Linked DNA regions of Homo sapiens: all the other regions are linked to region 1. Evidence: promoter capture Hi-C in 16 types of primary human blood cells and fetal thymus (Javierre and others, 2016). All regions are on one chromosome and are shown on one strand. Each heading gives the region's core, a stretch centred on a gene start or on the middle of the fragment in contact. The rest is flanking DNA. Distances are from core to core; before and after follow the strand shown.

The links. Contacts are between HindIII fragments. The CHiCAGO score rates a contact against its expected background, and 5 or more counts as called.
Region 2: a contact is called between a fragment that was not itself captured here and the fragment with the promoter of PKD1L1-AS1 in region 1, in 7 of 17 cell types (total B cells, naive B cells, M0 macrophages and 4 more). The highest score is 12.2, in total B cells.
Region 3: a fragment that was not itself captured here is called in contact with the fragment with the promoter of PKD1L1-AS1 in region 1 in 2 of 17 cell types (naive B cells and total B cells); the score reaches 6.1 in naive B cells.
Region 4: a fragment that was not itself captured here is called in contact with the fragment with the promoter of PKD1L1-AS1 in region 1 in 2 of 17 cell types (naive B cells and total B cells); the score reaches 8.1 in naive B cells.
Region 5: a contact is called between a fragment that was not itself captured here and the fragment with the promoter of PKD1L1-AS1 in region 1, in 1 of 17 cell types (naive B cells). The highest score is 7.3, in naive B cells.
Region 6: a fragment that was not itself captured here is called in contact with the fragment with the promoter of PKD1L1-AS1 in region 1 in 4 of 17 cell types (total B cells, M0 macrophages, M2 macrophages and 1 more); the score reaches 14.7 in total B cells.
Region 7: a fragment that was not itself captured here is called in contact with the fragment with the promoter of PKD1L1-AS1 in region 1 in 1 of 17 cell types (M1 macrophages); the score reaches 5.3 in M1 macrophages.

The regions. Positions count from the first base shown.
Region 1 is chr7:47,793,129-47,797,155 of GRCh38, reverse strand. It overlaps PKD1L1-AS1 (PKD1L1 antisense RNA 1), which reads right to left and starts at 1,865. Exons shown (of 4, transcript NR_161269.1): 1 at 1,713-1,865. It overlaps PKD1L1 (polycystin 1 like 1, transient receptor potential channel interacting), which reads left to right. Exons shown (of 57, transcript NM_138295.5): 55 at 1,006-1,167. The HindIII fragment of the contact is 8,231 bases long and covers 1-4,027 here.
Region 2 is chr7:47,291,581-47,295,607 of GRCh38, reverse strand. It overlaps TNS3 (tensin 3), which reads left to right. Exons shown (of 31, transcript NM_022748.12): 25 at 1,780-1,875; 26 at 2,703-2,780; 27 at 3,576-3,653. Among named protein-coding and RNA genes, the nearest start is that of SNORD151, 170 kb to the left of the region's middle. RefSeq lists enhancers at 1,346-2,545, 3,769-4,027. The HindIII fragment of the contact is 2,934 bases long and covers 860-3,793 here.
Region 3 is chr7:47,319,466-47,323,492 of GRCh38, reverse strand. All of the region lies in intron 20 of TNS3 (tensin 3), which reads left to right. Among named protein-coding and RNA genes, the nearest start is that of SNORD151, 140 kb to the left of the region's middle. The HindIII fragment of the contact is 420 bases long and covers 1,566-1,985 here.
Region 4 is chr7:47,358,598-47,362,624 of GRCh38, reverse strand. All of the region lies in intron 17 of TNS3 (tensin 3), which reads left to right. It overlaps LOC124901629 (a long non-coding RNA gene), which reads left to right and starts at 1,420. Exons shown (of 2, transcript XR_007060319.1): 1 at 1,420-4,027. The HindIII fragment of the contact is 1,625 bases long and covers 945-2,569 here.
Region 5 is chr7:47,375,632-47,379,658 of GRCh38, reverse strand. The region is part of intron 16 of TNS3 (tensin 3); the gene reads left to right. Among named protein-coding and RNA genes, the nearest start is that of SNORD151, 87 kb to the left of the region's middle. RefSeq lists an enhancer at 1-53. The HindIII fragment of the contact is 9,574 bases long and covers 1-4,027 here.
Region 6 is chr7:47,392,535-47,396,561 of GRCh38, reverse strand. All of the region lies in intron 16 of TNS3 (tensin 3), which reads left to right. Among named protein-coding and RNA genes, the nearest start is that of SNORD151, 70 kb to the left of the region's middle. The HindIII fragment of the contact is 2,611 bases long and covers 688-3,298 here.
Region 7 is chr7:48,158,733-48,162,759 of GRCh38, reverse strand. No RefSeq gene overlaps it. Among named protein-coding and RNA genes, the nearest start is that of ABCA13, 11 kb to the left of the region's middle. The HindIII fragment of the contact is 3,313 bases long and covers 247-3,559 here.

The DNA.
Region 1 (4,027 bases), core at 616-3,115:
GCTCTGGGTCAGAAAGCTCCTGAAGCCAGCAGCAGCTTGGGGCCTTATAACATTATCAGTGGGTAACAGCTGTCCCCTGAGGTTTTGCAGGGTGTGTAAAGCTGACAGGCTCTAAATGGCTAAAATGTTTGTTTGGGTGTTTTTTTTTTTTTTTTTGAGACGGAGTCTTGCTCTGTCGCCCAGGCTGGAGTGCAGTGGCGCAATCTCTGCTCACTGCAAGCTCCGCCTCCCGGATTCACGCCATTCTTCTGCCTCAGCCTCCCGAGTAGCTGGGACTACAGGTGCCCACCACCACACCCAGCTAATTTTTTTTTTTTTTTTTTTTGTAATTTAGGAGAGACAGGGTTTCACCATGTTAGCCAGGATGGTTTCAATCTCCTGACCTCATGATCCGCCTGCCTTGGCCTCCCAAAGTGCTGGGATTACAGGCATGAGCCACTGCGCCCAGCCCTGTTTGGGTTATTTTTTAAACAATTGGATGTGTAAAAATTCGAGTTTGTTACCAGTAGGCTTTTGAGCTAACAGCTTACAGCCTGCAGTGAAGAAATAAACCACCTGGAGGCTTATAGAGCACATGTTGAGGGCACAACAACTTGCTGAGCCCAAGACCCTTTCTGGTCTCCCAGGCACAGGCACAGGCCTCTCTCCTGAGGCTCACCCACAGCTCAGAATGGTTCACCAGGGGACACTGAAACTGAGACACAGACTTTACATATGGGCATGCACATCGCGTTGATAATCTCAGTCTCCAAAGTTAGATACTGAAAACAACCTTTATAATACAATGAATTTCCATTGCTGAGATCATCTTACTGCCATTTAGTTCAATTCAGGAGAGGTATTTTCCTGATTTTGCTTTTTTTCACCAAGAAATCACTATTTTACCAAAAGCTCGTAAAGTAGCATCATCAGATATAATCTCCATTGCATAGTTTATCACGTTAACAAAGCTCTTTATTTAGGCTGCTAACATGAAATTTGTCTTTATTTTTTTCTTTTTCCTAGCTGAGAGGTTTTCTCATGACTTTACCCCAAAAAAGAAAATCTTTTCAAAGTAAATCTTTTGTGAGACTTAAAGATGTCACTGCTTATATGTGGGAAAAGGTCCTCACCTTTCTGAGACTGGAAACACCAAAGTTGGAAGAGGCTGAGATGGTTGAGAATCACGTAAGCTGTGAGATCTTGGATTACTGAGCATGATAGCACACACTCAAGATGATGGTTTCATTGCAGAATTTTGCTTTCAGTTATCAAAGCATGAGTATGTTTCCATGCCAAATCTCCTTGCAAAGCCACAAAATTAGTCTCAATCATAGTGGAACTCATGGAATTTTCCCGTGCAATTCTAAAACACTTTACAGATTACCAAGCACATTCTCCTGCCTTAACTCACTATATCCTTATAGTGACCTGTACAGTTGGAAAGACAGAGTTTATGGTCTTCCCCAGGACACAGACATGCTGTATTCTGTCCCCTGAGTTAGTCATTTGCTTTTGGTGCCTGCTATCAAACCCAAACTTCTATCCAAAACATAGAGCCTTAGGTGCATTACTTGAGTTCAGTCACCCCAGACATGCATGTAAACAAATCAAACCAGGCGTTTGCACACTGAATACTCACTTTCTTCATGGCTGATATATTAGTTTGTTTTCATACTGCTGATAAAGACATACCCAAAACTGGGAACAAAAAGAAGTTTAATTGGACTTACATTTCCACATGACTTGGGAGGCCTCAGGTTCATGGTGGGAGGTGAAAGGCACTTCTTACATGGTGGTGGCAAGAGAAAAATGATCCAGATGCAAAAGTGGAAACCCATTATAAATGATCAGATCTTGTGAGACTTCTTCACTATCACAAGAATAGCATGAGAAAGACCAGCCCCTATGATTCAATTACCTCCCACTAGGTCCCTCCCACAACATGTGGGAATTCTGGGAGATATAATTCTAGTTGAGATTTGAATAGGGACACAGCCAAACAATATCATTCTGCTCCTGGCCCCCTCCAAATCTCATGTCCTCACATTTCAAAACCAATTATGCCTTCCCAAAAGTCCCCCAAAGTCTTAACTCATTTTAGCATTAACCCAAAAGTCCACAGTCCAAAGTGTCATCTGAGACAAGGCAAGTCCCTTCCACCTATGAGCCTGTAAAATAAAAAATAAGTTAGTTACTTCCTAGATACAATGGGGGTACAGGGATTGGGTAAATACAACTGTTCCAAATGGGAGAAATTGGCCAAAACCAAGGGGTTACAGGCCCCATACCAGTCCAAAATCCAACAGGTCAATCAAATTTTAAAGCTCCAAAATGATCTCCTTTGATTCCAGGGCTCACATGTAGGTGATGCTGATGCCAGAGGTGGGTTCCCATGGTCTTGGGCAGCTCTGCCCCTGTAGCTTTGCAGGGTACAGCCTCCTTCCTGGCTGCTTTCATGGGCTGGCATTGAGTGTCTGTGGCTTTTCCAGGTGCACAGTGCAAGTTGTCAGAGGATCCACCATTCTGGAGTCTGGAGGATGGTGGCCCTCTTCTCACAGCTCCACTAGGTCCCTTCCACACTGCCCTAGCAGTTCTCCATAAGGGCCCCGCCCCTGCAGAAAACTTTTGCCTGGGTATCCAGGCATTTCCATACATCTTCTGAAATCTAGGCTGAGGTTCCTAAACCTCAATTCTTGACTTCTGTGCACCCATAGGCTCAATACCACATGGAAGCTGCCAAGGCTTGGGGGTTCCACTCTCTGAAGCCCCAGCCCAAGTTGTACAATGGCCCCTTTCGGCCATGGCTGGAGCAACTGGGACACAGGGCACCAAGTCTCTAGGCTGCACACAGCACGGGGAACCTGGGCCCAGTCCACTAAACCACTTATTCCTCCTTGGCATCCAGGCCTATGATGGGAGAGGCTGCTGTGAAGGTCTCTGACATGACTTGGCGACATTTTCCCCATGGCCTTGGGGATTAACATTAGGCTGCTTGCTACTTATGCAAATTTCTGCAGCTGGCTTGAACTTCTCCCCAGAAAATGAGTTTTTCTTTTCCACTGCATTGTCAGGCTGCAAATTTCTTTAACTTTTATGTTCCATTTCCCATTTAAAACGGAATGCTTTTAACAGCACCCAAGTCACCTTTTGAATGCTTTGCTGCTTAGAAATTTCTTCTGCCAGATACCCTAAAAATCATCTCTCTCAAGTTCTAAGTTCCACAAATCTCTAGGGTGGGGCAAAATGCTGCCAGTCTCTTGCTAAAACATAACAGGAGTCACCTTTGCTCCAGTTCCCAACAAGTTCCTTATCTCCATCTGAGACCACCTCAGCCTGGACTTTATTTTTCATATCACTATCAGCATTTTTGTCAGAGTCATTCCACAAGTCTCTAGGAGGTTCCAAACTTTCCCACATTTTCCTGTCTTCTTCTGAGCCCTCCAAACTGTTCCAACCTCTGCCTGTTATCAAGTTCCAAAGTCACTTTCACATTTTTGGGTATCTTTTCAGCAACACCCCACTCTACTGGTACCAATTTACTGTTTTAGTTCATTTTCAAGCTGCTGATAAAGATATAACTGAAACTGGGGACAAAAAGATATTTAATTGGACTTACAGTTCCACATGGCTGGGGAGGCCTCAGAATCATGGCGAGAGGTGAAAGGCACATCTTACGTGGCAGTGGCAAGAGAAAAATGAGCAAGATGCAAAAGCGGAAACACCTGATAAGCCATCAGATCTCATGAGATCTTATTCACTATCACAAGAATAGCACGGGAAAGACCAGCCCCCATGATTCAATTACCTCCCCCCAGGTCCCTCCCACAACACAGGAATTCTGGGAGATACAATTCAAGTTGAGATTTGAATGGGGACACAACCAAACCATATCAGGTGATATTTAAGCATCATCCAGTAAGGTTCTGAAGGCAGTCATATGTAATCACGGTACTGTACATTTTGATAGGGCTTTATTCTCTGTCATGTGCTTCCCCATCCATTATTGCCTTATTTTTTTAATAGTGCTCAATAAAGATTTATTAAT
Region 2 (4,027 bases), core at 1,077-3,576, 500 kb after region 1:
TGTAGGGGAGAAAGGACAGATAATTCTTGAAAAGTAGGATCTTCTAGCATCCAGAATTCCAGCATAAGAAGCCCAACACGATGCTATTTCTGAGTGGAGATAAGGGCTTTTGTAGCTGGAGAGCTGAATTAGACCTGATTGTTGAGGACTGAAACTGAATAATGATGATGGCAGGAAAGAGGGTCGCAGGACCAAGAGCATCTGGCGAGTCTGCAGAGATGAGAGATTATTGGGAGAGGAGGAATGATGGATGGTTTTGGTTGGCTCCTTCGTTTCCGTGTAAAGTTTTAAAGCAAGGACAAATAACATTTCTGCATGCATTATCTTTTTGGAATCTAGATGAGAGTATATAACTGTTTTTACCTCTGTGCGTGCATCCTGCCTCTCTGACAGACTTTGGACTCAATCTTAAGATGAAAGGAACAAAATAGGGGATATTAGAATAGCAGACTTGAGGAAACCGAGTGTTGTTGGTGGCCTCTGGGTGAAATCTTATCTGACTGCTGTGTCTTCATCTTGTCCCTGGATTTGACATTCAGATTTCACAATCCAAGGATAGATTTGAGCAAAGAGTTTACCAGGTCATAAAGAGCCACAACCATTCACCATACCACCTCCAGTAAACTGGAGATGGGACAGCTAGGGACGTTCTGGATGCTGTTCTCCAGAGAGCCCTGGCCAGAAGGACTTCCCACTGAGCCATTTCTCACAAGTGGAATCCAGACCCACGCTTGGTGTCCCCTTCAGTTTGGAAGCCAGGCGTCATTTTCTTCCCACAACTGAATGTCAATATGTTCTTATCCCACTTTAATTCAACACAGCCTTTTATGGAATCTGATCATTTCCTTTTCTGCAAGCTTTACTGCCCTTGTGAAATGCTGACACAGTGATATTTGTCATGTTTATAAACATCTTTTGGAAGCCTACTGTGGGCAAGGCACTGGGGACCAAGCCCAACTCCAGTGGATCTTGCTGCCAGGAGGTTTCCAACACCAGAAATATTAGAAGTTTAGGCAGACATGCCCCAATGGAGGGTGATGAAGGAAGCACTGGATCCCAGAAATACAGCACACTGTGAAGGTCTGTTGGACTCATTAGCATAGGGCAGTGACTTCTTGTTCTTTTGGTTGTGCTGTTTGTACTTTTCCACTCTCAGATAGTTTTGCCATTCAGTGGCTTTTTATGATGTGTTTTCTCTTTGGACTCATGGGCTGGCCTAAAGCAGATGCACTGTTTACTGTTAATAGCAATGTGGTAGAGTGCTGCTCCCGTGCAGCTGAGTGCTTGCTTTCTGGAAGGTTTTAAAGATCCAGGCTCCTGGTTAAATCCCACCCAGAAGACTGACCTCCTTCCAGCTCTTTTCAGTGATTCATTATAGGTATCATTTTGTGTCTGAGCCTTTCTCACCTCTCCTCTTTGGGAGAGGATTCAGCTGGAGATTCATGATCCTCTTTCTTAGCTGCAAGCTCATTCCCTTCGTTGGGGATTCTTGCACAATGTTTGAGGGCCTCTCCCAAGGGACCTCTCCAGCCCCCACACTGTCATTGCAAGGGTTCCCGCCCTGTATCTGGCCTAGCCTGTGCTCATCCAGCTGTCCTGCAGCCCGGCTACCATTCCTAGGACGAAGATGGTTCTTGGCAGCCTCTTTTGCAGTGACTGGACTCGTATTCAGAGAAGAGCCTTTTCAACTGTAGCTCCTGGCTTTTATGTTCTCTCTATTGAATTCTCCCATGCTCCCATTTTCAAAAAATTCTTCTTTCTTTAAATTTCTTGCCACAGCTGGAGATTTGGCCAATGAACTCGTCCGGCACTTTTTGATCGAGTGTACCCCGAAGGGAGTGCGGTTGAAAGGGTGCTCGAATGAACCATATTTCGGTGAGTTGCTTGAGAGGTTGCTGTCAATGTTCTGAACTCATGAGGCCTGGATTCCCTCTGCTCACCAACCTGAGATTTGGGACTATCACTCTTATGGTGGTTTACTCATATTTCAGTCCCCAGTTCTGAAATCCTGCTGATCTGCATTATTATCTTTAAGATAAACTAGATTTGAAGTTGTTCTTAAAAGCTCTGTCAAAACCAAACAAATGAAAAGCACCATATCAGACGTAGGAATTACAGACGTCAATAAGATTCTATCCTAGTTGGCAGGCAGGTAAGTCCTGAGAAGGTTGGAGCTCCAGCATGACCCTATCCCACAGCACAAGGAACAACATAGAGCTCCCAACAGAGCACCCTCCCTTCCCTGCAAATTGGGAGCCTTCCCTACCTCACGAGCTTGTTGGAAAGATGACTTGAGCAATCCACACAAAGCACAGTGCAGCCTTAGGCATCATTGTTATTAGAGCTTTGTTAAGAAGCATTGTGCAGGGGTAATATATATGGTTGAAGTTGGAGTTGGCTTGATGTCAACCCTCCTGATTCAAGATCCAACAAACTGTATGCTTTAGTCTTTATATAATTTGGTAATGATGTGTCTATGATAAGAATGATAAACAGTTCCATTTACTTACCTCTCAACTATCTTGTGGAACTTTATACTTCTTTGAAGTTTTACACAAAGCTGCACACTAATCTAACATACCAGTTGCTAAAAAGATAAGGGCTCAGCCTTTGCATCCGTTTCATTCCAGCTGATAAATTGGCTGAGCACACAACATCTACAGCAGTTGTTGACTCTTGTTTGCTGTCTGTCCACTTTGCAGGGAGCCTGACGGCCTTGGTGTGCCAGCATTCCATCACGCCCTTGGCCTTGCCGTGCAAGCTGCTTATCCCAGAGAGAGGTAAGGGGTCCTCAGTGCTAGTCAGGCTCTGTGTAGATTGTCTGCAGTCAAGGCCACCGGTTTTAGAGATCCATGAAGATCCACTGAGAAAAATAATAAGACTGGAAGTTTTTTCGTATTCTCTTGGTTGAACCCAAGAAAAGGCCAATGAGTTCATCCAAATTAAGGAGAGAAGAGGAGATTCTACTTCACTGACAGCTCCCAGATAGCTTTACATCATGGATTTTGATGAAAGATTTCTATAGAGCAAAGATTCTGTAGTTTAAAAATATAAAACCCTCAGACAAAGAAGGCTTCAGGGTCATTGACATTTAATTTTTACGTTTCTACGGAATGGGCAAAATGTTGATGTTGTTGAACTTAGATGATGGATGCACTGTTCTTTTTACTTTTATGTTTGTTAAACAATATCCATAATGAAATTAAATAACACCCACAGCATGTCAGGGCGATGTGACCGTATGTCCCACTTTCCTAAGCAGTCACAACTTCACATAAAAATGGTCTAACTTAATATATAGGTAAATGTGATTTACTTTTCAAAGTGTCATTGTTCATATGACTAATTCGGTGATTAGAAAAATATTTTGTTAGGCCTTGTCATCTCTACTTTTATTCAGAATGTGATCATGGTTTCTATGGGCCAAATTATTGTCCCAAAGAGAAACTCTTGACTCTGCAAAACCATTGCATGTCACCATCTGGGAATTCTGTCATCAAATTGTCTAACTTTGTCATGAGGATTCTTGGTCAGGAGCAGGACTCATTTCTGTATTTTCTTGCCCCTTCCTACAGATCCATTGGAGGAAATAGCAGAAAGTTCTCCCCAGACGGCAGCCAATTCAGCAGCTGAGCTGTTGAAGCAGGGGGCAGGTCAGTAAATGCAGCTCCATTTCTACATCTGGTGACTGGGGAGAAAAAGGACTCACTGACACAACTTCCTTTTGCACTTCAGTATTCAGGTTTCCTTTCTTTTCTGTGAGCCTTGAAGGAGGTTTCCTTTTATAGAAGCTTGCACAGAGCTGGGTGGGGTGCAGTTGTTGGGACATCAGCAAGGCCTTCATGGGCCGGTCTAACTCAAGCAAGACTAAATTCAGTGGAATAAATGTCAAGCCCTGGATTTAGTTTGGGGGAAAATATAGTAAGACAGGATGTGGGTGATCTGTCTCGGCAACTGTAAATGTAAAAATGTTCCAGAGACATGACTCAACAAGTCACTTGACATGAGTCAATGATTTGACCCACAC
Region 3 (4,027 bases), core at 526-3,025, 470 kb after region 1:
TCATTCTGTTTAGAAAATTTCCTTTGGCCATTCCCTACTGGGACATTTGCAAACAACAAAATCTCTTCATTTTCCTTCATCTCTGGATTTCTTTATTTTTCCTTCATTCCTGAATGGTATTTCTGCAGGATATAGAATTCACAGTTGACAGTTCTTTTCTTTCAGTACCGGAAGCATGTGCCACTTCTTTCTGGCCTCTTTGGTTTGGGTTTCTTTTGAAGATTCGAAGATAGGTGGATTCTCAGAAAAGCTGTCATTTTATATGACACTAAGATAGGGAAAACAGTGCCAGGTAAAACAGGATGCACTGTGGGTGAAAAGGTATGCACAGATTTCAGAAATGTGGCTCCGTGAGAAAAAGCAACTGGGGACTGGGCACATGAGGCCTCGAGGAGCGGTACCTCCAGCCCTAGACTGGCTGCATGGTCGGCCCAGGGTGTGCAGAGCTGCAGGTGGGCTGGAGACGGGGTGCCTACCATGCAATGAATCCTCAGCAGGGGACCCCTCCCTGCTGGCCTCCTATGTAGGAAGCCCTGGTGATGTGACAGTGAATGAGACACAGCCTCACCTCTGACACGGTTCCAGCAGTGTGCTACTGGCCATGTGCCAGATAGAGCAGGGTCCGTGGCCACCGAGGGCCTCCGTAAGAGGGAATCAGGGAGCGGAGGCAGGCTGCTCTTGAGGGCTTTAGAGGGCTTCATGCCCCGGGTAGGGCTTCTGTGATTCTGCGGGGTCTCCAGTCCTTCCAGCTTGAGCACTGCACTCGACTCATGGTAAATATTATCAGCAACTTAGAATATTTAGGCACTCCCCTCAGTTTTATGTTCGTCATATACAGGCTTTCACAAACCATTTTCTTTTTTCTTTTTCTAATCATAACATTCCATTCCTAGGGTATGTTTGTTAATTTTCATTTCACTGGGTTGTTTTTTTGATTGTGTGTGTGTGTGTGTTTGTTTGTTTGTTTGTTTGATACGGAGTCTCACTCTGTCACCCAGGCTGGAGTGCAGTGGCGCGATCTTGGCTCACTGCAACCTCCGCCTCCCGGGTTCAAGCGATTCTCCTGCTTCATCCTCCTGAGTAGCTGGGATTACAGGCATGAACTACCACGCCCGGCTAATTTTTGTATTTTTAGTAGAGACGGGGTTTCACCATGTTGGTCAGGCTGGTCTTGAATTCCTGACCTCGTGATCCGCCTGCGTCAGTCTCCCAAAGTGCTGGGATTACAGGCGTGAGCCACTGCACCTGGCCTTTGCTTTTTTTTTTTTTTTTTTTTTTTGCCCGTTCTACTTCACTCTCATGTGCTTTCCCATTGGTTTGTGGTTTTGCTGTTGCATCAGCTTCCTTCTATAGGTCAAGGCTATGTAATGTACCCAGACCCTGGTCCTGGGGCTGAGGGACCAGTTCTGAGGGATGCTTGATGCTTTTACAGTTCTTTAGCCTTTAATCTTTTTGTAGAATGCCAATGAGACTCCTCCTTCCAGGACAGCTGGGAGGGTCGGGAAGTCCTCAGTGAATGTTCATCATCAGGAAAACCTTGGTGGATGATGGGCAGGAGGGAAGCTTCAGCAGTGGGTCCCCCTCCCTGAACTGCTGGTTAGAGAGAGGCTTGAGTGCTGTAGACAAGGAGGTCTTTTATATTGTGTTGTGCATTCTAAGTGGATGGTCTTTGGGGGAAGAAAACAATGTAGAGTAAAATCAGGACAATTTGGTCTATTTGAGCGAAGGTCTTTCTGAACTCCCAAGTGTTTGTTCCCTCCTTCCCCTCAGAGCACAATGGTTATTTCTTAAATTTATTTCCTATGAGACAGGAGTAATTATGGGCAGAGGGACAGATGAGAGCTTCAAGCATTGTCCAGTTCTGTCCCGGGACAGCCCTCTTGGAGAGAGAACCACCTGTGGCAGAGACTGTGGATTGCTGTAAATTATCTTATTAATTGGAACATCACTTGTTATATTGGAGCAATTATAGCATGTTCAAAGCTTTGCTGGAAGGCCCTCCAAATGCCGACACACCCTGCTGGCATTTCAGTAGTGCTGGTGGCCTCTGTATTCGTGAGTTTTGGACTCAGTGGAATGGAGCTGGGCTCCATAGCACCTTCGGGGTCCAGAAGCCAGTGGCATGGTGCATGACCGTGGAGACGCTGCCCATGAAGAACATAGAGCCAGCCTGAAGGAGAATGGTACCACCGAAAACCAGTGGGTTGAGAATGAGACCCTTGCATCAGCAAAGTGAGTAGCCTACCCATTAGGCATGGTATGAATCGGAAACCTTAGTGAAACAAAAACACAAAGAGAGGAGAATCGGGACCAAGAAGGAAGGCGGGTGAAGCCGCATCATCTCCCTCCTCGGGCTGGCTCAGGGCCCCATGAGATGCAGGTTTTCTGGCACAATTGGCTCCTCCTGGAGTCCTGCCTCAGGCTGGTCAGAATTCCCATGCTCCAAGAGTCAGAAGGGACACATTAGAAAGTCTGTGTGGTCTCCTCAAAAGCCACATGCCTCATGTCAGTTTTCATTTCTTCCTCGTCGCGATGGATCTTTCGAGTGCTTGCCAGGGGCCAGGCCCTGCTGTAAACACCTTTCATGCCCTAACTTGGCAGATTCCCTGAGAACTCTGAAGTAGGGCCTATGTCACTCTCCTGCCATTTATAGAGGGGCTGCATCTCCCCAAACCACACACAATTCGTGTTAGGCTGAATTGTGACTCCCTCCACCCCCTGCACATTCCTATGTTGAATGATGCCTTAACCCGAACCCCAGGATGTGAGTGTTTGGAGAAAGGGCCTTTACAGTGGTGACTGGTGAAAGTGGGTCCCTTAGGGTGAGCCCTCATCCAACATGACTTGTGTCCCTGTAGAAGGGGGCGATCAGGACACAGACACACAGAGGGAAGACCATGTGAGGACACAGGGAGAAGATGGCCATCTGTGCACCGCAGAGAGAAGCCTCGGGAGAAACCAGCCCTGCCAATGCCTTGATCTTGGACTTCCAGCTGCTAGACTGGGAGGGGATACATTTCTGTTGGTTCAGTCACTGTGTGGTATTTTTTATAGCAGCCCAAGCTGACTAATACTCCCAACTCGTGGAATACCAGGATTCCTCTTAACTCACAGAGCTGTGGACAGAGTGAAAAGGAAAAGGAATGAGGTTCGTGCTAATGAGCTAGAGGTGGGAAACCCAAGAATCATGTTTGAGTCCTGCTCCAGCTGGGTGGTGCGTGTGTTTCCCTCCAGGTGCAGGTGAGGGGAAGTGCTGAAGCCTCGGCCTCCTCACAGGTATAGATGGACGAGAGTGCACACCTTTAAGAGTTGTTCTGAGGGTCAAGTAAGCCCACTGAGCACCGCGCAGATAGTCACTATTAGTAAAATAGTGATAATTTATAAAGATAACTTATGTTTTCTGAACAAAGATAAAATGCATTCTGAGTCTCTGTTTATATTTACTGCAATGAGAGTACATCTTTTTGTTAACTGAGTGAAGGGTTTAAGTGAAGCTGAGGTTTCGAATTCTTACCTAACACAGGATTCCCAGTGTTGCATTCCTCATTGCTCACAGGACGCTTTAGAAATACTGGGTGAAGATGGCAACGCCTGGTTAGGGACCTGGTTAGAGTCTGACCAGTGATATTCTCTCAAAAGCAGCAGTCTTCCAGTTTCTGAAACTACATGAGAAACCCCCATTAGCTGCCTGTGGTCCCTGGCACATGGGCTGGTGGGCATAAGGGATGCAGATGCCCCGAGTGCCACAGGGGTTCTTAGACAGGCAGGTCCTTTAAGGGTGTCTTTGATTCTATTCAGGTCCATTGAAATCTGCCACATAGAATAAGGTTTTCAAGTCATGGTAAGAGACTTCTGAGATTACAGGGGAGGTTTCTCCCCCTGGGCCTTATGTGATTTAGACTTCCATGGTGCAGTCATTGATACAGTTTGGATATTTGTCCCCTCCATGGGGGCAGATACTTCATGAAGGGCTTGGTGCTGTCCTCATGGTAACGAGTGAGTTCTCACTGTTAGTTCACACGAGAAC
Region 4 (4,027 bases), core at 508-3,007, 430 kb after region 1:
CAGAGCTCTCGTCTCTCTGACTCTGCACCCCATGGCTATGTCCTAATTCCACTAAACTCACACTCTTACACCAGCCAGTAAACCTGTTGAGGGAAGTGCTCATTATTTTTTTTCCCTGGCATGCAGGAAGAGTTCGACATATGTTTGCAAATACAGGGGTCTGGGACAGGCGGAACTGCAAATGATCCTTTTGAGACCTGAACTACTCTGCTGAATGGGCACTGAGGGGAGATTTATCGCTGGACAGTGTAGAGTAGCCCTGCCCACCTACAAGATCAGAGAGAGGCCCTCCAGAGGTGGGGTATCACAAAGCTCTGGTGGCTGAGACCTGGGTGCTCTGTGTGCCAGTGAGCACAGTTTTGTATCCTTCTTGTAGAATGGGTGAGATTCAGGGAGTTGGTTTGGGGACATTTTACTCCCCACAAGTGCCTGCCAGCCATGAGGCCCTGCTCCCTCACTCTGGTCTGACTTCTGCTGCCACTGGTGTTTTGTGGAAGAGCCCCTGGGTGCTGCTGCCAGGCTCATTGTCCCCGCCCCACTCTGGGTCTCAGCCTGGTTTCAGCCTGCACGTGGTGGGTTTTTTGTATCATACCCTTTTAAGTGGGAGAATATTTCAACTGATGATATCCCAGTAACAAAAGAAATGACTCAACCTGTGAAATTCATGATTCCGTGGGTGGCAAAAAGCCAGTTCTGTGGTTTTTTTTCATACCTTGAGGGCTCTTTGCTTCATGTTGTCAAAATATTTTATTCATGTTACATCAACCTCCACCCTGTGATGACAGCAACCTGGCAGGCCCTGTTCTGCTTGCAGATAGTGCTGTGGCATTCCCACCAGGCATTTAATGTCCCTCCCAGACTCGGCATCTGCTCTGTTAGTGCTAACCCATGGCTGATAACCTGTGCATCCTAAAGAAAGTTCAGAGCAATGGAAACTGTAAGCTTTTAATAATTGACCATGGAGAGCCCGTTGATTTAAATTGTGTGCTAAACCCCAACCAAAGGAACCAAATGTGAAAGCTGGAAGAGCGCTTTAGGATTCAGAAAGCAGCTTATCTGCAAGCTCTGATTCCGTGGCAGAAGGCTCACAGCCTCACAAAGTGGAGACAGGCAGACAGTCCCACCTCATTTCAACTCCAGAGTTGGGGAACGTGCTGGGGGTGCTCAGCCAGAGCCTCTCAGCCAGGCCTTGTGAGGCAGAGGGATCCTTACCAGGCAGATGGTCTGGAGGAGAGGCAGACCGGGAGAAAGCATAGTGTGCCAGGGAAGTTCAGTGCTGGGGAGTGAGGCTGGAGATGCAGATAGGCCCCACCATGGAGGGCCAGGATGGGGGCCAAGGAGTGTGGCTCTTCCCTGAGGGCAGAGGCGAGCCTTGGGGTCTTGGGCTGGGCCCTTGCTTGTTTTTTTTTTTTTTTTTTGGCATGGTTACTGTCTTACCAGAAGAGAAGGCACTGAGAAGGTGCACTGAGCCTGGGAGCTCTATTAGGGTCCCAGAGACAATGGAGGATAGCATTTAGGCAGGATGGGGGTTCCATGGGGTGGCATTGGCCTCCAACTCTGCAGAGGAAGAATCTCAGGAGGGAGGGAGGGAAGTAAGCAAGTGGGCCCCAGCGCCTGCGCCCGTAGCAGCTGGACATTGGAAGAATGAAGGGGCCTTGAATTTGGCTATTAGTGATCTGGGTATGGGGGTTTCAGATCCGTGCTAGGGACACAGGGGATCCATGGTACTTTCTAAAAGTCCAGGTGTCGTTATTTCCGTACTGTGTGTTATAACTGAGCAGTGCCCAGTTATGGGCATCATCCTGCCAGTGCCGGGCCCTCAGAGCATGGGGGAAGACAGCAGCGTGCGCATCTGAGGTGGAGGATGGAGGAGTGACCGCAGCACCAGGCATAGACACTCCTGGAGCCCTCCAAGGACTCAGGCGTCAGCAAGAGACCAGGGCTGATGGCAGCACCTCTGCCTTTTGGGGGCTGTCTCTGGATGGTCTCAGTCAGCCCAGGGTCACCTTTATTCTGAGATGCTTCCCTTGGCCACCACCCCCTCCAGGGAGCTGAGTGAGGTCCTAGGACCCAGGTCTTATAAAGGGACTTCCTGGTACTCACATCAGAGAACCAGGATAGAGGAGGTCTGGGAGCCAAGGAGCCAGGGCCCCGGGCGCTGGACATGCGTCCGTGAGGGACTCTTGCTCTTTGTTTGCTACCACTGGCAAAACAAGGCTTTTTCTCCATCTGTGAGCTTCAGTCTCTGGAGGTTTCTGAGAGAGATGGGATATTTATGTGCCTTGAGAACTCTGAAAAGAGACTCCTGCCCAGGGGTCAGGACTAGACACAGCTCCTCTCCACCTTCAGACCCCGATGCTTTAGGGCCGTGGGTATGAACAGGTCATGTGTATGTGAGTGCACATTTAATAACCGAGTCAGCCCACTGCACTGCAGGGAGCTCTGTGGGTGTCCAATTCGGAAAACGTTTTAGAATGAGAAACTCCAGTCTGCTTGGGGAAACTGCCATTGCAATTACTTTCTTTTTATTGCATAAAACCAACTTTGAAATTTTAGAGTTGATGAAGCTTTCCATTTGCCCCAGATACTCTCACTCTGCAAAGCAGGGGGCCTTGGTTTCCCACCCTACCACCTTGGTGGGCGCTCTGAAGACACTGCTGAGAGGCTAGGGCCACAGAGGAGAAGGTGCTATCTGGGCCTTCTGGGACTTTGAGGTGTGGATTCCAGCCCACCTTCTGCTCAGTCCACACTGCCCGTGATAGCTACATCAAGGGACCTTCACTGGTTCAGGCCCAAAATGAAGTATCGTTTCTATAACAGATACCTTCTAGCGCCATCTTTACTCTTCTGAGATGAAAGTCATAGCGAATATAACCTCCTTAAGCACATACTGAAAACTAAATTTAACACCCTAACACTCATGTCAAAGGAAAAATAAAAAGAAAGTAATTCACAATAAAGTCATATGAATTTTGAGATGAAAATCTTTGGTCCGGCCCACAGTAGAAAACAGAAATCATCCCTCAGGTTTAAAAAATACTCATTAATTTTTTATTGTGGTGAAATACATGTAACATAAAATTTAGCATTTTAATCATTTTTAAGTGTACTGTTCAGTGGTAGTAAGGACATTTGCATTGCTGTGCAACCATCATGACTATCTAGTTTCAGAAATTTGTCGTCATCCCAAAGGGAAACCTTATACCCCCTGAAGTCACTTCCTGTCCACACCTCCCTGCCAAACCCCTGGCACTCACTCATCCCCTCCTGTCCCTGGGGATGTGCCTACTGTGGACATTTTACATAAATGGCATCACAAAGTATGTGCTTTTTGTGGCTGGCTCCTGTGACGTGGTGTGTGATGTTTTCGAGCCGGACGTGTTACAGCCCATGTGGGAACTTCAGTACTGCTCCTGGCAGAGTAATATTCCACAGCTGGGATAGAGCACAGTTTGTTTATTCATTCCTCTCTCGATGGAGACTTGGGTTGTTCCCACCTTTGGCCTCGGTGAATGGTGATGCTGTGATCATGGGTGTGCCTGTGTTTGTCTGAACACCTGCTTTCAGTTGTTTGGGGCGTTACCCAGGAGAGGGGTTGCTAGGTCCTGTGGCACCTCTGTAACTTGCTGGGGAACTTCCCCACTGATGCTTGAAAGTCATTTGGTATCACCAGGTCTCTGGGGTGTTTCATTTGTCCCCAGAAGCTCTGCCTAAGCTGCACTGGGAGTGGGCTGATCTGTGTGACCCTAACGGCCTGAGTGCTGGCTCAGGGGAACTGCTAATTTATGGAATCCTAGGTAGGTGGTGGTAGAATTCTCTCCCTCTGTCAGGGTGGAGCAGTTACGACAAATCCACAGTCTCAGGGACATAAAGCAACATGGTCTTTTTCCAATCATGCCACATGTCCACTGCATTGTGGCTTGACATGGGCCTCATGCCAGGACCTGGGATGAGGGGTGAGCCCTCTCTGTGCACCCAAGGCTGCCGACACTCCCGAGAGCACTGCCGGCTCCCACGGCTTCTGCCA
Region 5 (4,027 bases), core at 687-3,186, 420 kb after region 1:
AGAGAAAGAGTTGTCCCTACAGAGTAGAGTTTATTACCGTCTTTTATTTTTTGTAAAAACAAAAATAAAAAAAGAGGAAAAGGGCACATTTCATCGCGTCTTGAAATATATCAAAATCATAGAGTATCTGATTTAGTAGATTAAAAGCAGTGTTCTCAAAGACCCAAGTGTAGTCCTCATTTCTTAGCTCTTGAATTTTCTGTGGAATAGAAAATGATTTAATAAAAACTCCAAAAATCATTAATTAGCAAAGAGTCAGAATTCTATTGTAATAAAATTAAAGCAGACCTTGTTTGAGTGAGAGGTTATACATGCTCTAATTATAAATGTCCACATGGAAAAAACGAGAGTGATTTTTGCATATGCTATGGGTAAGATAATACAACGCCCCTTGAGAAGGAACCTCTTGGCTCAGATATCGCTTCCTGACTGGGAAGGTCTTTCGGTGTCTGCAGCCCCTACCAGGCCTCCAGGGATCAGGTACCCTTGGGACACTGCCCGGGCTACCCGTACCTCCCCTCCTCGCAAATGTGAGAATGCCCCTTGCTTCATTGTTAACCCCATTCAACCCTGCCTTGTGCTCTGGGCCACAGCCTAGTTTTCAGCCCTCCTGGCTTGGTGATGGACTCTTCCATGCGCCGGAGCCTGAAATCCAGGCAGTCCCTTAGCACCTGTCCTCACCAGCACTGAAACCCCCACTGGCTGTTCCACATTGTGCAGCACCAGACCCATCAACTGAATGGTCTGCTGGAAAACTCACAAGTCCAGCGCCGGTGCCATGGCTCATGTGTCAGTTGACCTAGCAAATCCAGGAGAAATGTTCTCTCACTGCTGAGGGGAGGTCATGTGATGCAGTGATGGGAACCCTGGGTGTGCATGACACAATCTGCCAGAAAACCCTTAGCCCTCCCCCCATGAAACTTGGACATGCTTCGGTCCCTTGCAATCCCCCTAACCTTGTGGGTTAAGCAGAGGAGAATCCATACCCCTTCTGGGTTTGGTTTGAGCCTAATGAGACAATAGGTACGAAGTGCTTGGAAGACAGTGGTTGCCCAGTTAGCTTATTACTGCTGCTTTTGCCATCATTGCTGTCAGTCACCGAGGAAACAAACAAAGTATGGGATGGGAAAACTGTTTTACAGCTGGTAAGATCCTGAGCTGGGCAGCTTGGCCATAAAGTCGCACTGGGTGGATGGTTAGCAAAGTTGGTGCCTGGGACAATTTCAGTCATATCAAAAAATGACTTAGGGAACTTCTGAATACGTTTTTTTAAACCCATCTTTCACCATAGCTTTATATTAGAGAACAGTTCCTCAGTGTAATTCTCGAGACGGGAGGTCAGTGGACCTGCGTTCTGTGTACTCACTGATTAGATGTTCATGGAGCACTCCTCTGTCCCTCAGCTCTGCACCCAGAGGGTCCACACATGAATCACTTGTGAGTTCTGGGAATTCTTCACTTGACCAGAGAGGGGGAAAGCACAGAAAGGAGGGTTTGCCCAATGCCTGCTGTGTGCCATGCCTTTTGTGTTGAATCCCAGTGGTCCTGGGAGCTGATATCAGCAAACACCCCCTTCTCCAGGTTGCTTCTCTGCAGACAAGGACAGTGAGGCACAGAAAGGCGGAGTGATTCATCTGAAGTCACACAGCTATGATCAAGCCAGGACTCAAGCCTGGATTATGCCAGAACCTCTAGAAGGGGAGGGAAGGTGTGCACATGAATCACTCCAATGGAAATGTCAAAAGACGCTTTATGTGACAATGAGGCGCAAAGGGACTATGATCGTTATCCCAAGGAGAGAGGGTTTCCATTGTCTCATGGAATTTAGGAAGAGGAGGGAAGGCCTTTGAAGAGGGGGAGGAGGGCATGGGGGAGAAGGAGAAGGAGGGAGGGGAGGAGGGAGAAGAAGAGGAAAGGGAGGAGGAGAAGGAGGAGGAAAGGGAGGAGGGGGAAAAAGAGGAAGAGGGAAGGAAGGGAGGAGATCAAGAGGAGCCACCTCAGGTTGGGGTCTAGTCTGCTGTGAGTCTCATTTTTGTCTTGATCTCACAACGGTTGTTTTAACTGAGATGCAATTTACATGCAGTAAAATTTGCTCTGTTTAGTATATAGTAGTCTGAGTTTGACAAACATTATGCCATGACACTCCCACCACTATCAAGACGCAAATATTTCTATTGCCCAAACCATCCCTCACACCCTTTGCAGCCCCACTCTTCTCCTGGCCCCGACCACACCCATTTGTGTCCAGACACAGTGTCTCCACCCCAGAATGTCACCTATGTGGAGTCGTACAGTCGAGCCCTTTGAGTCTGGCAGTGTTCACTCGGCATAGTCCTTGAGACCCCTCCAGGAGACTGCCTGCAGATGAGCACTCGTTTTTGAAACCGAAGCCTCTCTGTCTTCAGCATTTTCCCTGGGCTGTGGTTGTCAGAGCCCACCATGGGCACTTGCAGCTGCAGACATCATTCCAATAAGCCTCCACTTATTGGGACTGTTTGGATATGGTGAATTGATTCAGCTGGACGGCCCCAAGTGAGTCATTTGAGGGTGACCTAGGGACAGGATGGTTCCTGGCTGTGTCTGGAGAAGCTACCTGTTCCCTGTGGTGGTCCAGGCACAGGCAGGACCTCTGGCATATCCATGGCTCCTGACCCCGATGGGGCTGCTGGTACCATGGGTGTGTGGGAGAACTGAAGACTCCATGCTAGGAACAGCACCCGATCCACTAACTGTGAGGATAGAAATGCACTAGCTTTAAGAAACGGAACAAAAACTGTGACCATCACTGCAGCGGCTGTGACACCACAAGGGTCTGTTCCTGATAATGAATAATTTTAGGAGTTAGGGAGGAAAGCACAAAGCACTTAATAGTCTCTGAAGAGTGAGTGAGGTGTATATGAGTTTGTGTGTGTGTGTGTGTGTGTGTGTGTGTCTTGATCTAGATAGTTGATCTGTGAAATATAAAAAGTGATTGACTAGGATTAGAATTTTATCTTTTTTTGGAGTGGAGGGAGGTTGGTTTAAATTTCAGATATTCTATTCAGTAGGCTTGTAAAAAAAATCGTTAATGTTAGTGCAGGCTCTCTCAGCCTCTGATTTCTCATCTGTAAAATGGACTTCCCGTTTCCTGCTTCACAGGATTGCTTTGGGAATTGAGTAGGATCCCTGGGGCCTAACAGTGTGCTGGGCGCATGGGAGGAGCTTGCACGGTGGCCTTGTCTTTAGGAGGTCAGCTGAGTTGTAAGAGAGGGGTGTTTCCAGAATTCTCTCTGTTTGTCAGGTGATGAAGATGCCAATTCCTGCAGCCTCACCTGGCTCACCTGAGGGTGGCTGCTTCAGCATCAGTGGATGCCTTTCTTCTCACACACTGCTCCGTCTTTCCCTTGCCTCTGTTGATCTGTCTATTCGGATGCCGTGAAATGTGCCCACCACCCTTTCCATCTCTTGTTTCTCTCTCTGTTCCCCAAGGGGGCTTGTCCATTCTCCAGCACATCATCAGGACTGGGCTGAGTATTGCTTTTAAGTCCCCGTTTATGACTAGCAATCATAGCAAGTGCTTAGTCAATTCTAACCAACTTTCATGGAGAAGAATTTTCTAGTTTCTCCTTTGAAACTAAAAAATTGCAGGGAGGATACTGTTAGTTCTTTTGAAATGAAAAAGTTACTTTTTAAGCACACCTGTCACAAAAATAGAACATGAGATTCTTAGCATCAATACCTAGAAAAAGGAAAGGTTCCACGTCGCTTCATAAATCTATCAGATTTGTCCTTCCTTTGCTTCAAACCAACTTCTGTTGGAAGCAGGGCCAGTGGACAGTTCAGTGGATTACACATCAGTGATGAATATTTTTGGTTGCTGAGTGATTGATGATGGAGGGTGCTGAAGTGTGAGATCAGCTGTCCCTTTGGCTATCTGATTGTTAGCATGCCGGGGAGCACAGTTGGGCATTGCCTAATCTGTTTTCAACCGGGATGGAAGGGATGTTTTCATATATTTTTTTGGTCTTCTCCATTTTTTGGGTGACTT
Region 6 (4,027 bases), core at 744-3,243, 400 kb after region 1:
TCAGTGAAGTTATATCCAGGAGCTCCTTGGCCTGAACTTGTGTGTATGTATAATGCCAGGGACCGTTCCCCCTTCTTCCGTCCCTTCCGTTTTGCATATGGGGATGCCAAGCGCTGGCCACAGCCAAACTAGCTACTGTTGTACGGCCCCACATGCAACAGACATCTTGTTTTAATTTCTGTTTGCTTGTTAGTCTAGTGTTCCTGATTTATGGCTGTATCATTTAAATCTCTGTTTTCGTGAAACCGTCTCACCCAAACATGTCCTCTGTTCACCTGTGTAATATGCACATTGGGTCATAGCTAGGAGCGTGAAGGAGGAAAGGAAGGAAGGGGCAGCTGTGTGCTGGAATCTCCACAAGACACAACTGGAGGCTGATTTCAAAGGAGGGGAATTGAGGCTTTTCCTAGCATGTCATGCTGATCCCTTGTCTTTTTCAACCACCGATTGAGAATCAGACTTGCTTTGGGAAAGAAATTAAAACACTTTTTGTCAGATTAGTTACATCCAGATGTAAAATAGCTAAAAGCAAGTGTTGTGGAAAGAACTGCAGTAGCGCCTCATCTTTGTGGATCGCTGAGCTTCCCATGACTCCAGGAAGGGGGTGTCTGTGGTTAGTGAGAAAGGACACCAATTGTGTGTCCCAGGGCAGCACATGGCTCCTCTCTGTTGTCCTGGGGAAAAGCTTGCTCCTTCATAGGCCTTGTGGGATGGAATTTCAACTCAAGGAATTGTTGCAACCCAAATACACCTAGACCAGAGGTGGAGACCCACAGATGGAATGTTGATGGTAAGGACATTAAAACACAGATGATATCTGGGGCTAGTGGGCAAGTTGTGGACGGGGAGAGCTTTGCTCTGGCCTGTAAAGTAAACAGAGTGTTCTTTGCTGGTGTGAATTATTCAGCACACCAGTCCTTCCAGATAACCAGCACGTTAAAAGAAATGTAGCTGAAAACTCTTGCAAAATGATACATTGTCTTTCAAAAGATCACAGTGCACACTGGAATCTTAAAGCTGTGAGAATAATTTCATAAGATTTATCAAACAACAGTTATCAAACTTTTTGATCACAGAGCTCTTTTTCCAGTAACGTCTGTTTGCATCTGCATAGCTATATTCTGTCCATCACATGGTGATGTTTTCCACTGGAGGAGAGAAGGGTGAAGCGGTGGCTGGTGAAGTGTGTAAATAATCATCGCAAGGCAAGATGGGGAAAGGGGCTAATTTGGAGAGCTGGATGGGGACTCTGAGGACAGCTGACTTAGCATCCTAAATTCCAGGCTGAGGCGAGTGGATTTTACCAGAGAGGTCCCTTGCTGCATGGGAGCCAGTGAGCAGCGCTCTGTCCTGAGGTGATGAATCAGTGGCTGTGCCGAGTCTCATGGAGAACAGGGAGGCGAGTTGTGGAAAGGTCATTCTCGTGATGCTGGGAGGTTCCTTGCTTGCCAAGGGAGGGGCGAGCCTGGAGGGTTATTGACCATGAGGGAGGCAGGGGTTCTAAAACACAGGTGGGTGTTCTCTGTGCCAATGCCGTAAGAGGGGAGCAGTGAAGTCCGGTGGACAGTGTGGAGGAGCCCCAGCTCCTGTGAGGAGCATGCTCTGGAGGGCAGCTCTGTGCTCAGTCCCTCATTGGGTGCCCCGCTCTTGTCCCCAAGCTGGCTCCCAGCTAAGCCTGTGACCTGCCTGCGGGGCAGGCTTTATCCTTCCCATGTCACAACCAGGGAACTGAAAGCTGGGCGCCTGCAGCATGTCACTCACAGGTGGTGAAGGACCTACGTTGATTTTATGTAGAAAACATATAGACAGAAAATCAGTTGAGTGTTCACCATCCTTTAGGGGTTACATGAAACTTTACGGAGAATCTGTGGAATTATGTGTGTGAGCGTGTGTGTATAGATCCATACATGTGGAGGACTTGCCGTTATCACTGGGTGAAATAGACAGAATTCAGTCTTAAAGACTCTCAGCCACCGCAGTGTCTCCTGAAGATGCAGAGGGAGATACTTCTTTACTTTGAGGCCCTCTCAGCCCATTCACGCTGCCTTGACAGATGACCATAACCTGGGTGTCTTAAACAACAAGCGTGTATTTCTCCTACTTTGAGAGGCTGGGAAGTCCAAGATCAGGCAGCCAGCCTGGCGGATTCTGGTGAGGGCTGTCATCTGGTTGCCAACTCCTGCCTTCTTGTGTCTCCACGTGGTGGTGAGGAGAGGGAGCTCCTTGGAGCCTCCTTTCTGAGGGCATCAATCCCACTTATAGGGGTTCCACCCTTATGCTCTGAGCACCGCCAAAGGTCCTGCCTCCTAATACCATCACTCTGGGGATTAGGTTTTGACATATGAATCTTAGGGGACACAAATATTCAGTCCATAGCAGATACTCAATGCGTGTTTCTTGAATGAATGATTAGAGAAGCAATTTGAACTTTAAATATCTAAGGCCCTGACATTACAAATCACAATTCCCATTGGTGTATTTTTCATGCAGCATCTTCTGAGCCAGTGGTGTGAGCAGGTGGGAGACTGCTATGGATTGTGTGGTTGGAGGTGGTGGAGCCATGCAGGTGATGGTCTGGGCATGCACTCGGGACTCTGTGTCACCGAGAGTTGGGTCTAGGGGCGAGTAGAGAAGGTCTGGCATTGCCATGCAAAAGATGGAGCCAGTTGGGAGTGGGTGCATAGGAGTTCTGGAAAGAAACTGAGAAGGACAGGGCAGAGTGGGAAGGACACCCGGGAAAGAGTGGTTCCCAGACAGGAGGGTGAGGAGTCGGATAGGGCGCCAAGGCAGCCAGGTACACTTTGCAGCCAGATTCACAGCTTTGTCATTACTGCTTCCAGGCTTCATAAAGCAGCAGAGACCCCCTTTATGGGCAGAGTCATGCCCAGACTCCTCAGGGATATAGTGGGTGAGAGTGCAGCCTCCTCCCAGTGCCTGGTTCATCCCTTGCAGCCTCGATGATATCTGAAGCCCATGAGCACCCCCAGGGAGGTGGAGTGACAGGGGAGGACTCAGAGCGAGCTCAGGACTGGTATCCGGATGCTTAGCCCAGAACCCGCCACACGGAATCTGAGTCCTCTCCCAAAACTGGATCTCAGCAACCTTCCCTTGAACCACTGCCTGAGTATTCTTGAGAATTCCAGCTCCTGAGTTACAGACAAGCACGGAGCCTTTCCTCAAATCTGCATCCCCTCCTCCTGACCCTCCATCCCCACGTGCTGTCTGGCGTGTCTGGGGTACCTGATTCAATGGAATGAGTTTTATGCTTTTCTTTCTTTCTTTTACATACATTTAAGCTTGTATCAATATTTTTTGAAGATGTAAATTATCAAAAAGAAGGAATAATTACCGCCATCTTACTGTCTAGAGATGAAGCACTCGTCATTGGTGTATTTTTGGCATGATTTCTAAATATCATGTAATTTCTCATAGTAGGATCAGCCTGTGCATTGTTTTATAGCCTGAGTTTTTCACTTAACCCACCTCCTTTAGCATCTGTGCACATCTTTAAACTTTCTTCCCATGTCCTTCTCACTGAGCACACTGGATTCCCTTAGAGGGGCTTCCAAAGTGCGTTTGATCTTATTGCTGCACTCCTGCAGGGTTTCCAAGTTCTCCCTGTGAGACACGAGGCTGCCATCACCACCTCTGCCATCAAAGTTCTGCAGAATCCCCAGGCTTGGGTCCTTTTGAGAAGGTGTTCCCCAGAAAGAGTAGTCACCTTTGGATAGAAAACTCATCCTTGTTGAATTTCCCTCCTCTCTTCCACTCTGCAGCCCTCCTCAGCCCCTCTTTGGCATGGAGGCCGGTGTGCTGCATTGGTGAGCTATTACTCCAGGCAGTCTTCGCTCTTGCCTGCGGTCAGCAGTGCCTGGCTCAGGTCCCTGGACTGGACGCCGCCTGGCGGGTGAAAGGCTGAGTCCCAGCCGCATTCCCACCAGGGCTTTAGTCTTCAGAGCTGTCCAGTGCTTTGAGGAGTTAAGGAAGGTTTGGCAGCCTCTGAAACATTCTCTTTTAGCTGGGAAAA
Region 7 (4,027 bases), core at 654-3,153, 370 kb before region 1:
GCAGTGTGGTGTTATGATATACATTGGTTTTTGTCCACAGTTCCTGGATCATAACTCCCATAGCCCTTGTTACAGTCTTTTCTCATAATGTTGGGTGTGTTAGGCCTCAGGGACAGGCCTCTTACTTTCTCCTGCCCTCCTTTTACTCTAATGTTCCCCTGTCTTTCTGACTGTGGATCTTAAGACCCTCCCATGAGAAGGTCCCATACTATACACTGGGGGAATGAATGCTGATTTCTTGAAGCTTCCATAAAAACCCAAGAGGAAGAGGTTCAGTGAGCTTCTGGACAGTTAGACAGTGGAGGTTCCTGGAGGGTGGCACCCAGGGAGGGCATGAAAGCTCCATGTCCCTTCCCCTATACCTTCCTCTATGTGTCTCTTTATCTGTATCCTTCGCAATATTCTTTATAATAAACCAGTAAACATAAGTGTTTCCCTGAATTCTGTGAGCCACTCCAGCAAATTAACTGAACCCAAAGAGAGGGTCATGGGAACCCCAACATAAAGCTGGTCAGTCAGAAGTTCCAGATGCCTGGACTTGCAACTGGTGTGTATAGAGGGGCAGTCTCAGAGACTGAGCCTTCAACCTGTGGGATCTGACACTATCTCTGAGTAGACAGTGTCAGAACTAAATTAAAGGACACTTAGCTGCTGTCTTCTCCTTGGTGTTTGGGAAAAAAAATACCCACACATTTGGTCACAGAAGTCTTCTGTGTTGATCACTAATGTGGTGTGAGAGTGGAGGGAACATGCAGTTTGAGAAAAGTTTTTCTCTACACAATTGGTGAGTGAAGTGGGATTTATTGGAATGGCACTGACTCATGGAAACATGTGGCTTGGGAAGAGAAAGGATAAAAGAGTGGGGGATGAGGAATATTTGATTCCTGGGTAGCCAGGTGGTCACCCATGTTATAAAGCCACAGCTATGTTGAGATCAATTACTAAAGGTGAAAGTTACCAATGGAATTTAGAGATGGATCCTACTCTCCAGGAATTGTTTCTTTGGATACATAAGGAAATGCAAACTAATAAGGAAAAAAAAAATATTCAATCTTTTGGTGACTGTTATCTATAATGGCTAAAATGAAAGTAAAAGAGGGTGCTGAGTCAGAACTTGAAGCTGGATCAAACTCAGATGTGGTCCATCTGAGCTCAGGATTCTAGCCTCAAAGTCAACAACAAAGGAAAATATTATGCAGGAACAACAGAAAGTACCTCTGAGACTTGTGGTTACCAAGAAAATAATCAATATGAAGGAAGGGCGAACCAACTAACTATTGAAACCAAATGGTATAGTGTGAAGGAATTGTTCCATTTTGTAGATCAGTAATATCAGCTTCCTGAGACATCTTTACTAAAATGGATTACAAGAGTGACCAATTTAGGGGCAGTATCTTTGGTTTTAAATGTTACAGAGCAGAAAAGCATACATTTGGATTGATGTGGGACCCACATCTCAACACTGAGCAACTGCAGACAGTTTTATATGATCCAGACACATAGGAGGTTATTCCTGAGGGAGCAACCAGGCAGCCTGGCAGACTAGATAAAAGACACTGTAAGTTCTGTTTACCCCAAGAAGGGGGATGCAGAATTTCTCCACAGATACAGCTCTTCCCAAGAAGGACAGCTTTTCTGCTACTCTTGTATTTCCAGTCCCTCAGAATAGCTATCTCTAAATATTTCCAAATATATATATATATATATATATATATATATATATATGAAATATTTTGGTTTCCTTCACAAGCAAAATAGTATCTAAGCCATGAGGCAGAGGTGACCAATGTCCCTTAGGATGGCACTCTCCTCACACAGTGCTGAGCCGCTGCCCAGGGCGATGCTCAGCAAGGGACTTCCTAGCCCCCTTGCACTGGGCCAAGTGGCTCACTCTTGCCACTGAAGGTGAGGGGAATACCGTTGTCACTTCCAAGTCCAGGCCCTCAGTGTCAGTCAATGTTCTCCTCTCTCCATTAGAGGCCCTAGGGGATGGCAGAACAAGATTGAAGCAGCCTGGGCCCTGGAACCCCACATGTGTCAAAACCCCCTGAGCAAAGAGCATCTGGTGGGCTCCTTGGTGAGCAGAAACAAGCAGCCCTGAGCTGAGCCAGTTGTGTGTGGGTGTTAGTGAGTTAAAGCGGCCAGTGTGGCAGAGTTCTCTAGAGAAATTCTCTTCCCTGTCTCCTCTCCTCCACCCTCCATCCTTCCCCCTGCACTTCCCTTCCCTGTCAGGGCTCCAGCCTGCATAAGTGACCCTGAGTTGCAGCAGTTCCATCTCCTGCCCTTGTTCCTCCAGCCTGGAGCCCCCATTGGCCATTTGTTACCCTAATTGCCGATTTCTGAGTCACTTCACCATTGCCTCCCTGGCTTCTTGGCTCTTCCATCACCTATAGAAGTTTTCTACATTAAAATTTATCTCTTTATAATATGCAACATTAACTTGTATTTTTCTTGTTGATCCTGTTGATACATAGTCCACCAAATGGTTCATAAAAACCAGCTTCTAGGGGAATGGCTGAGTCAGGATTTGAGGCCGGCCTGCCATGGTCATCAGGAAGGAGCATCTGCCTCTCTCTCTCTCTCTGTCTCTCTGTCTCTCTTATCTCACTAAGATGCCTCACTGATACAAGTGGCTGAAAGAGAACAGAATTTGTCCATAGAGAATCCTGGGAGCCCTGCTTTCTGTCCTTCCCTTTCTCTGTAAATAACCATCTCAACTATCCACCTCCCCTTTAGCACAGCTTAGAGGCAGGAAGGCCAGCAGGAAGAAGGCTATCACAACTGTCCAAGGAGAAGGGAATAAGGGCCTTTGGCAGGGGCTGAGACATGGAAAAAGTACAAAGGAATTAATGATGACATAATTCAAAGAAGGAGAGAAGGAGGAGAAGCCAAGGGTAGTGAAAAAGTGGAGGTGGGAGGTTTGGGGAATAGTAAGTAGCTGGATTTCCAAGGGAAGTCAGGTTCTGGCACTGGAATCATCCAGGTGGGAGTTCCAGGTCCAACCTGCAGTTAATGACCAGCGTGACCTTGGCCATCCACAGCTTTATCGTTTCAATCAGTACAACATGAAGAGAACACCATGGATGAAATGTGACTAAATACTTAATACAACCCTCATTCTCCTAATGCTACCTGCTCCCAGATTCTTCCATCCCAAGACTGACTCACTTCTTGCCATCTTCCCTGATGTCAGCCACCTGCCTCAGCAACCACCTCTTCCACAACTCTCTACTCAGTGGATGATGTGCAAAGAGGAAAGCATTAAAAGTCCATATGCAGCCATGACAATCAAAGGAGAAAGCCACGAAAGCAAGGTCATCAGTCTCTCTTCTACTATAATGCACAAAAGCGAAGGTTTGCTAGTTCAACGGTGATTAGGAAATGAGACATTTACTATGAAACCTATATCACAAGAAGAGTCCAAGAAGGGAAGGAGGGTGTTATGGACTGAATTGCCTTCCCCAAAAAATTTAATGTTGAAGCCCTAACCCCCAATGTGACTGTATTTGCATATGGAGCCTTTAGGGAAGTCAATAAAGTTAAATGAGATCATAAAGCTTAGTCTTACCTAATTTGATAAGACTGGTGTCCTTACAGGAAAAGAAGAGAGAGCAGGAGTGGACACACACAGAGGAAAGGCTATGTGAGGACATAGCTAGAAGGTGGCCAGCTATAAGTCAGGAGGAGAGGCCTCACCAGGAACCAACCTTAGTGGCACCTTGAGTTTGGGCTTCTGGCTTCCAGAACTGTGAGAAAATAGTTTTCTCTTGTTTAAGCTGCCCAGTTTGCGGTATTTTGTTATGGCAGCCCTAGCGGACTAACACAAAGGGGTTAAAAAGGGGATGTGCAACCTAAACTTGCATTTGGGTGCCTGAAGATGAGTCTTACTAAGGAATTTAAGGTTGATGCTCACACCTTACCTAGATCAGGGAATTCCTTTGACCCTGAAAGGCGCTGAGAAAACCATGGAGTTAGCAGAAAAGTCTTTATATGAAAGGATCCAGAGGATGGAACTTTTTGGAAATCA